Regions from separate parts of the Homo sapiens genome. Here all the other regions are linked to region 2. Evidence: promoter capture Hi-C in 16 types of primary human blood cells and fetal thymus (Javierre and others, 2016). All regions are on one chromosome and are shown on one strand. The core of a region is centred on a gene start or on the middle of the fragment in contact, and the rest is flanking DNA. Distances in the headings are between cores, read along the strand shown.

Evidence for each region. Contacts are between HindIII fragments. The CHiCAGO score rates a contact against its expected background, and 5 or more counts as called.
Region 1: a contact is called between a fragment that was not itself captured here and the fragment with the promoter of FAM210A in region 2, in 5 of 17 cell types (fetal thymus, activated CD4 T cells, naive CD8 T cells and 2 more). The highest score is 6.9, in fetal thymus.
Region 3: a contact is called between a fragment that was not itself captured here and the fragment with the promoter of FAM210A in region 2, in 2 of 17 cell types (activated CD4 T cells and naive CD8 T cells). The highest score is 6.4, in activated CD4 T cells.

What each region holds. Positions count from the first base shown.
Region 1 is chr18:12,694,638-12,697,629 of GRCh38, reverse strand. It overlaps CEP76 (centrosomal protein 76), which reads left to right. Exons shown (of 12, transcript NM_024899.4): 5 at 222-407; 6 at 2,279-2,376. It also overlaps a transcript of PSMG2 not described here. Among named protein-coding and RNA genes, the nearest start is that of CEP76, 6.6 kb to the left of the region's middle. The HindIII fragment of the contact is 2,884 bases long and covers 133-2,992 here.
Region 2 is chr18:13,724,583-13,727,825 of GRCh38, reverse strand. It overlaps FAM210A (family with sequence similarity 210 member A), which reads left to right and starts at 1,268. Exons shown (of 4, transcript NM_152352.4): 1 at 1,268-1,497. It overlaps RNMT (RNA guanine-7 methyltransferase), which reads right to left and starts at 1,153. Exons shown (of 12, transcript NM_003799.3): 1 at 1,097-1,153. RefSeq lists an enhancer at 1,165-2,090. The HindIII fragment of the contact is 3,253 bases long and covers 1-1,274 here.
Region 3 is chr18:12,711,043-12,714,007 of GRCh38, reverse strand. PSMG2 (proteasome assembly chaperone 2) reads right to left here. Exons shown (of 7, transcript NM_020232.5): 3 at 1,248-1,306. Among named protein-coding and RNA genes, the nearest start is that of PSMG2, 9.5 kb to the right of the region's middle. The HindIII fragment of the contact is 2,277 bases long and covers 383-2,659 here.

The DNA of each region.
Region 1 (2,992 bases), core at 325-2,824, 1.0 Mb after region 2:
ACTGGATAACTCATCACAATTTGCCAGTCTTCTGAAAAGTTAGTGATAGAAATAGGACTGTACTTGTATTTCCAGTTTTTTGCATGCTTTCTGAGACATTAGCAAATTGTTCTCTTTGGTTTTATATAAGCTTATTATTTACTGTTTAATAAAAGTATTCTTTTATGTTGGCCTAACTGAATATGTAGTGTGGTATAATTTCGTTTGGATTATATTGCTAGGTGATGGAACTAGAATGGCTGATTCAACAACAATGTTATCAATAAGTGATCCAATTCATATGGTGCTAATCAAAACAGACATATTTGGTGAGACGACTTTAGTAGCATCATATTTTCTGGAATGGCGATCGGTTTTGGGCTCAGAAAATGGAGTGACCAGTCTGACTGTGGAACTTATGGGTGTAGGTATGGTGATTAATATATCATTGTTAACCTTTTTATAGCCACAGTTCATTTGTAAATATATTTTATATCTTTAAAATGCTTTTATAATCCAAGAGGGAAACCTGTAAAATAGAATTTCGTTAGAGTTACAATTGGACCTCAGCATCCTAATCTTGAGAAATGTCTTGAAGAATAATATCAGTATAGCACTTCATGGTCAATCTGACCTTGTCTTAGGAGAAATGTTTTTTTCTGGAAAATGAATACAGGAATTTTGAGGGTTTTAATTTCAAGTTCATTTGATTAAATATAAGGCTATAAAGAAAATTAATATTCTTGACACACATACAAACTTATGTGTGTCCAGTCATCACACCCTGGAATACATCCCCTTTGGTACCAGTGATTCTTGCAAAATACAGAGTAGATGTTCTCCCAACCTTTTACAGTGTGGGTGAGTGAGACTCGGAAGAGGAAATAATTTGCTCAGTGTTAGTATCAACTAGTCCTTGAGGGCAGAGCTGGTGCCTATCTTATTTATCATAGTCTCCTTGGAATCTTGCACACTGCCCGCTATGTAACACATACTTGCTAATAAAATGAGAAAACAAAACCTACCAATGTTTTATCTATAACATATAATGGAATTACTTTGGTTTTTAAACTTAGTCACAGAGTTAAACCTTGCCAGTGGACAGCATAGCCTTAGTAATTTAGATTATTATTATTATTATTATTATTTGAGATGGAGTCTCGCTCTGTCACCAGGCTGGAGTGCAGTGCTGCAATCTCGGCTCACTGCAACCCCCGCCTCCTGGGTTCAAGCGATTATACTGGCTCAGCCTGCTAAGTAGCTGGGACTACAGGCATGCACCACCACACCCAGCTAATTTTTGTATTTTTAGTAGAGATGGGGTTTCACCATGTTGGCCGGGATGGTCTCGATCTCTTGACCTCGTGATCTGCCCGCCTCGGCCTCCCAAAGTGCTGGGATATTGGCGTGAGTCACCGCGCCCAGCCAGTAATTTAGATTTTAATAAGTCATACCAAGAATGTATTTTTCTTTAAATAAAAATTATAGAAAAAGTGTCCTTTATGTAAGAAATTTATTTTCAAAAACAATACCCAATTTGTCTTCAAAAATAGGCCTAACATGATAATCGTAGCAGTGACCTGGAAACAAGCAGATTCTGATTCACTGAAGAAACATTAAATCGTTTTGATGTGAAGTATATTTGTTTTCTAGTTCTTTAAATCCAGGCATGGATTGAAAATTTCTACTCAGCCTGTAATTGGATAATGGGGAGTGACAAATGGGAGTTACTATAAGTGACAATATAAATGCTTTCTAATTTTTAGTGTGTGTGTGTGTGTGTGTGTGTGTGTGTGTGGAGAAGGAATGAGGTGTTAACAGTTGCTTTGACTTTGAATTTAATGTAAGTCTGGTTGATATTATACATTTAATTAAGACAAAAATTAAGAGTCTCAAATCCTTTAAGTCAGAAAAGTTTCTTAAAACCTGTTAGAAAAGCCAGGTGTAGTGGCTCATGCCTGTAATCCCACCAAGCACTTTGGAAGGCTGAGGCAGGAATATCACTTGAGCCCTGGAGTTTAAGACCAACCTGAATAACATAGGGAGACCCCATCTCTACTTAAAGAAGAAAAAGAGTGTCAGAAAGCTAAGAAAATAATCTCCTTATAATTAAACACCTTTGTTTAAAAAAATTGATTTGGTTCATTTTAATATGAATATTAAAGGTAATGTTGAATGTTATCTTTATTCCATGTAAGTGATAAAACACCCAAGTGCCTAAATTATTTTGGTTAGACTTTGGTTGACTAAATATATATAGTATTGAAATCTCTGAAGTTCAAAATATTTATGTTTATAGGCACAGAATCAAAAGTTTCTGTGGGAATTTTAAATATAAAACTTGAAATGTATCCACCACTCAATCAAACGTTATCTCAAGAAGTAGTGAACACACAGGTAAATACTTATGAGTTTCTCTTTTTTTGTGTGTTTGTTTTCATAGTAGTATATTTACCTGTTGATCCTAGAAAGCACTCTATTTTTAGAAAATTACCATTTATTACTTTCTAGATTAGCACTCAAAGGTTCACAAAAAGGATGAGGAAGAAAATAAAGACAAGATTGTTTTCCTAGCAGAATCTGTAGTCTAGTTTAGGAAATACGATGAACATTTATTGAGACAGCATAAGAATTACAGGATAGGCCGGTGGCTCACGCCTGTAGTCCCAGCACTTTGGGAGGCCGAGGCGGGCGGATCACAAGGTCAGGAGATCGTGACCATCCTGGCTAACACGGTGAAACCCCGCCTCTACTAAAAATACAAAAAAAAAAAATAGCCGGGCGTGGTGGCAGGCACCTGTAGTACCAGCTACCCGGGAGGCTGAGGCAGGAGAATGGCGTGAACCGGTAAGAGGAGCTTGCAGTGAGCCCAGATCGCACCAGTGCACTCCAGCCTGGGCAACAGAGCAAGACTCCATCTCAAAAAAAGAAAAAAAAAAAAAGAATTACAGGATAAAGCTGAAGAAGATCAAAGAGTAAAGTGCAACCTCAGTGGGATGGGATTTTAACGTTC
Region 2 (3,243 bases), core at 19-2,518:
GGAGCTAAAAATGTGGACCTGATGGAGGTAAAGAGTGGATTGGTGGTTACCACAGACTGGGAAGGGTAGCAGGAAGAGGAGCGGGATGAAGAAGAGAAATTGGTTAATGGGTACAAAAAACCCCAGAAGAAATAAAATCTAGTGCCTGATAGTACAGTGGGGTGGACACAGTTAACAATAACTTATTGTGTAGTTCAAAATAGCTAAAAGAAAAATTGGAATGTTCCCAACATAAAGATAAATGTTTGAGATGACAAATATCCCAATTGCCCTGATTTAGTCGTTACACATTGTATGCATGTATCAAAGTATCACCTGCACCTGCAAATATGTGCAACTTCTATGTATCAATTTAACAAATTGGGGGAAAAAAAACCCAAACCAAACTCAAAGTGGAATAATGAAAACACTCCATAGGGAAGAGAGCTGTCCCTCAGAATCTTCAAGAAACCTTCGAAAGGTGGTCGACTGACATGGAGATGGACACGCGATAAATAACCACACGAACATTTCGACCCGGCTTTCCAGTCACACCTCCGAAGCAAGCTATGTCTCTGCGTCATTTCAGCTCCTCAGGGTACGAGCGAGCAGGCCGCCAGGGCCGCCGGGATAAAGCCCAAGCGGGATAAGCTCTAAGTCCCGACCCGCCCGCTTGACCCTCTACCACGGGGCCCGAGAGGACGCACAGAGGCGAGAAGGGACTTCTCCAGCCAAGTTCACCCCCTCCGTCATTAGCGCGGCCTGTTACTCAACCTCTGGTTCAGGTTTCCGAAGCGCCGCTGAAGACAAACCTGCGGACCCCACGCCCCTCCCCAGCACGGCCCTGGGGCGCGAGCTGGAGCAGCTCTTCGAGCTGCTTCTCCCACCCGGGCTCGCCCAGTCTGGAGGAGGAACAGCGCCCGCCCACCCCAAGGAGTTCCCATTTTCCTTGGGACTGAGGACACAAGGCAATAGACCCACGCGTTGGGTAGTGAAGCACAGGGCTAATGCGAAGTGAGCCCATGTCAGGGGTGGGAGTGCCAGTTCCACCCCTCCACGGCGGCCGAGGGACAAACACAAAGAAAGGAAGGGCCGGAGTTCCAGCCGTCACACTCACCAGCACAGCCAAACGCGATTCTGTTTGCGGAAACGGCGGCCCGCGCCACGCGTGTCTGCTTACGTCACTTCCGGAGGTGCGAGAGTCACGTGGAGACGGTCAGGCGAGAGTGCCGCGACGCACGTCCTCCGCGCCGGAACTACGAGTCCCGACGTGCCGCGCGCGGCATGCAGAAGCTTCACTGAGCGGGCACTGGAGGTCGCGAGCACGTTGCTAGTGGGCGCGGCTGGCGGGGCCGGGGGCGGCAGGGGGCTAGCGTCCGGCTGAGCCCGGCGGGTTCCTGCACGCGGACCCACGCTTTGTCGGGCTGCTCTGCTGAGTGACACCGCCGTGGCATCCGAGGAGCTGTGGTCCAGCCTGCGCGGCGGGAAGCGGCGGCGGCGGCTCCAGCGTCCTAAGAGGTAGCATGGGCCCAGGCCTCTGTGGGGCAGCGGGAGGGGTCTAGAGGGCACCTTCAACCCTGGGCGTGTGTCCGGGAGCTGACTCGCGGCGCGAACCCGGCAACTGCTCCGCGTGCGCCGCTCTTCGGGCTGTGGCAGTGTACGACTGCCAGACGGGTCGTCCACACTCGCCGACCCCACAGACCCCGGCGGCCGAGAGAGGTCCCCCCGCCCTTCCGGGTCGAGCCAGTGTCCTGGCAAATCTTGCTTTGGGACTGTTTTTCAGCCTCCTTTGCTGTAACCCTTCACCGTGTTCTCCCCCCTTCTTCCGAAGCCAGTTGAAGAGGGGCCCGGAAGCGCCCGCGTTCGGAATGGTTTTTAAAATTAGCAATTTCTTATTAGGGACTGGCAGACTGGTCCTTACCGCCGTGTTTGGGAAGCCACAAGAGGCCATTCTTACCTGTTAGATTCTGAGAAAAGGGACCGCCTATACCTCTTCTTGACAAATACCTAAGGATGCATTAGTCTGCGTTGGCTGAACTTGGCATGGTGTGGTTTGGGGGAGACAACACACTTTTTTTGGCCATCACCCCAGATTTCTACTGGGGAGTGAAAGCGCCTACTGTACTGAAACTCGAAAGCTCCATAGTTGAGGACTTTCAACCTGAGATCAGGGTCAAAACTACCTGTGGATAGATTATTGAAGCGTGTGCATATTAACGTCGTGCGTCAAGTCCCCACCTTCCAAGGTTGTAAAACTGATCAGATTTACAATCCGTCTTGAATTACTCTTTACCAAAATTGATCCATTTAAAACAGCTTTGAAAATGTGCTTTACCAGCCTTCCTTCTTGTCAGTAGGCACAGGTATATTAATGAATAGACCTGGCTTTGGGGAAGGCAGCATTTGCAGCGTTGTGCTTTCCAATCTAATCACTTCTAAATTGTGGGCATTAGCCCATTTGAGGTTACAAACTTTGAACCAAGAATGAGGCCTATTTTTCACAAATAAGGATGACCCATCAATTTCTGATGACTGCTTGTATTTGTTATTATATGAAATGAGGTAAGTTGAGAATTAATCTCATTACATGAATATTGACAACTGCAAAAGTGTAGGTCTTACAGATCGAATGCATTATAGGCATATACAAGCATTAGAACCAGGCAATTACATTCCCTGTTCCTGATGCTTAAGTTTCTTGAGATAATTGCTGTTGTAATTTTACAGAAAATGAGTGTAATTTTGACTTTTAAAAACATGTTTTAATGTTTTTAAACACCGGGTGCAGTGGCTCACTTCTGTAATCCCAGCCGTTGGGAGGCCGAGGCGGTTGGATCACGAGGTCAGGAGTTTGAGACCAGCCTGGCCAACATGGTGAAACCCCGTCTCTACTAAAAATACAAAAATTAGCCAGGCGTGGTGGCGCGTGCCTGTAATCCCAGCTACTCAGGAGGCTGAGGCAGGAGAATCGCTTAAACCCGGAAGGCGGAGGTTGCAGTGAGCCGAGATTGCGCCGTTGCACTCTAGCCTGGGCGACAGAGCGAGACTGTCTCAAAAAAAACTAAACAAAACAAAAAAAGTTATTAGATTAAAAGCCTCTTAACTATGTGTTTATGAAAACTCCACGATGATGGGATATATAGAGATTACATTTTTCAGTTTTTATAAAACTTAACTAGAAGTTGTGTAAATTCATTTGAGAATAGAGGGGAAGGATTCTTGAAAGCAGTTAATGTAAGTAAATGAGCCAGATAAAAATGATTT
Region 3 (2,965 bases), core at 272-2,771, 1.0 Mb after region 2:
AGGCCAAGGTGGGTGGATCACTTGAGGGCAGGAGTTGGAGACCAGCCTGGCCAACATGGCAAAACCCCGTCTCTACTAAAAATACAAAAATTAGCCAGTGTGGTGGCGTGTCCCTGTAATCCCAGAGGCTGAGGCAGGAGGATCACTTGAACCCAGGACGGCAGAGGCTGCAGTGAGTTGAGATCACATCAGTGCACTTAAGCCTGGGCATCAGAGGAGACTGTCTCAAAAAAAAAAAAAGAAAGAAATTATTGAGTTTGCAGGGTAGCAGATAAGAAACTACTTGGTAAAATACTGAAACTTCCTCCCCTTATGGGATAAAAGAACTGGCTGAAATTGGTTGGAACCAATATGGCCAAGTAGAGTCTGCAGAGAACAAGCTTCCTGGTGTCGCAAGCTGACTCTCCATCACGTTTCATACTCATTCCCCTGAATTGGCACATGAGCCCTATGAGTTAGCATGAGGAGATAACTGTGCATGCCCAAGGACCTTCCAGATGTCCCCTTTCCTTCCATCGCTCACCTACTGATCTCAGAATCCACCCTCTGAACCTTTTCTAATAAAAACACTGCCTTGAAGTCAGCACAGGGAGGCAGATTTGAGGTCGACTCCTGTCTCCTTGGGAGTCAATTTGCAATATAAAGCCTTTCTTGTCTCAAAAACCTGGTGTCACAGTGCATCAGGAAGCGAGCCCCTTTTCCTGGATCACAATTTTGAGTGAGAGGAGAAGCCACTGGAGGGTTTCAAAGAGAGTAGTGATGTGGTGTACGTTTAGAGGATCATCAGTGCTGCTGTTTGTGGGAGGCAGATCAGCAAGTTAGTCAGGGGCATGAAGATGACACTGGTTTGCACTCAATGACAGCAGTGGAGGAGGAAAGAAGTCGGATTCAGAATATTTTATGACATATACATAATTTGATATATACATAGTTTATATGTAGATGCCACCAGCTGAAAGGTAATACAAATGGAATAAACCTCTAATATTAATATGCTTACATTTTTTCACCAATGCTACCCGAACTGAAAATATGTTAACACTCAAGATAAAAGCCCTGCTTCCTTTCTATATAATCATGAAAAGACAGTAACACATCTGAAATATTGTAAGATTATTTCTCTGTAGAATCAGATCTTAACTGTACATATGGTAAAAACAGTAGTAATTTTTGAATCTTAATCCCTAATGTTACTTATTTTCTCATTACACTTTAATAAACAAAAAGGCAAACTACAACATACTAACCTTAATAAAAATGGATCTTAACTGTAGAGCCACCAGCTTTCTTGAAGGCAATGAATACACTATAAAAACAAGAAGAAAATGAAATCATATGACAGTGAAGTTATACAAGTTGAAATTATTATGATAAACAAAAATTGAATTATAATACCTTTTGCATTTAAATGTTTTCAATAATTAAAATACGGAACATATATGACATCTGGTTAAAATAAGACCTTTTAGAAGTACCTTAAAATAAGCCAGTGGGCTTTATTCTATGGAACAGATTCATTTCTGAAAAGTTAACTGTAAGAAAATATAAAAAATTATTTTTCTTTTGACTTTAACTGCAAAACCAGAGAAGTATTCCCCTGAAAATTTCTGGTATTATGACAAATAAAATCATCCTTAAGAAAACTGAACTTTTTGGCTTTTGATATTCTCCCCTCTTTGTCTCCAGAGAACAGCAACACTCATTGGGATTAACAGAAAAAACAGTAAAAGGTAGGAGAATGTTAGCCATGTAATAAAATCCTGAAATAGGTACATGTGTGTTCCTTAGAACTTTTTAAAGGATCTGAAATAACATAAAATGTCATGTGAGTCAATGTGTTTGTATTTTTTACTGGGAAAAGGATCCATAGCTTTCATCAGGTTCTACAAGGGGCACACTCTAGAAATGCTTAAGGCTTCCCTGCCCAACTTCATTTCTAAGAATGAGAAGCAGCTGGGCATGGTGGCTCACGCCTGTAATCCCAGCACCTTGGGAGGCTGAGGCAGGTGGATCACAAGGTCAGGAGATCAAGATCATCCTAGCTAACATGGTGAATGAAACCCCGTCTCTACTAAAAAATAAAAAAATTAGCCAGGCTTGGCGGCGGGCACCTGTAGTCCTAGCTACTCAGGAGGCTGAGGCAGGAGAACGGCGTGAACCCGGGGGGCGGAGCTTGCAGTGAGCAGAGATCGCGCCACTGCACTCCAGCTTGGGCAACAGAACAAGACTCCATCTCAAAAAAAAAAAAAAAAAAAAAGAATGAGAAGCTCCTGAGTCAGGGATAAAATACTCTCTAAGGACACAGGATTACTACTGTGCTAAGGGGTAAGTGTTGGTTACCATAAACAGATTGCAAATAACAGCAAATCCTTTGGTGGATCAGGTCTCTACTGTTACAGGTCTTTCGGAAATTGTCTCCTATGGCTGGCGTGATGTGGTGTGACTGGGGGGTATGCTGAACTCAGCAAATCTAGCAAGCACCAGGTATGTTCAGTCCAAAGGAAGTTTAGGAATTAGGGAAAAGGGTATAAATTTAGGGAAAAGAGACTAAGGCAAAGATTACTCAGCCTCTAACCTATCTGTGACAAACACATGTAGTCCAATTCAACTGACCTAGGTTTGAAAAGAATGTATCTGTAGGGGGTGGACAGGCTAAGCTTTTTAAAATGTAAGCTACCACTTCTTCGGTGATAGCAATACTCTCCTCATCAGCGTATCATACAATTCTTTTTTTTTGAGACAGAGTCTCGCTCTGTCACCCAGGCTGAAGTGCAGTGGTGCGATATCGGCTCACTCCAACTTCTGCCTCCCAGGTTCAAGTGATTCTTGTGTGTCAGCCTCTCAAGTAGCTGGGATTACAGGAGCACACCACCACGCCTGGCTAATTTTTGTTTTTTGTTTGTTTTTTAAGACAGAGTCTTGCTCTATCACCCAGACTGGAGTACAATGGTGTGATCTCGGGTCA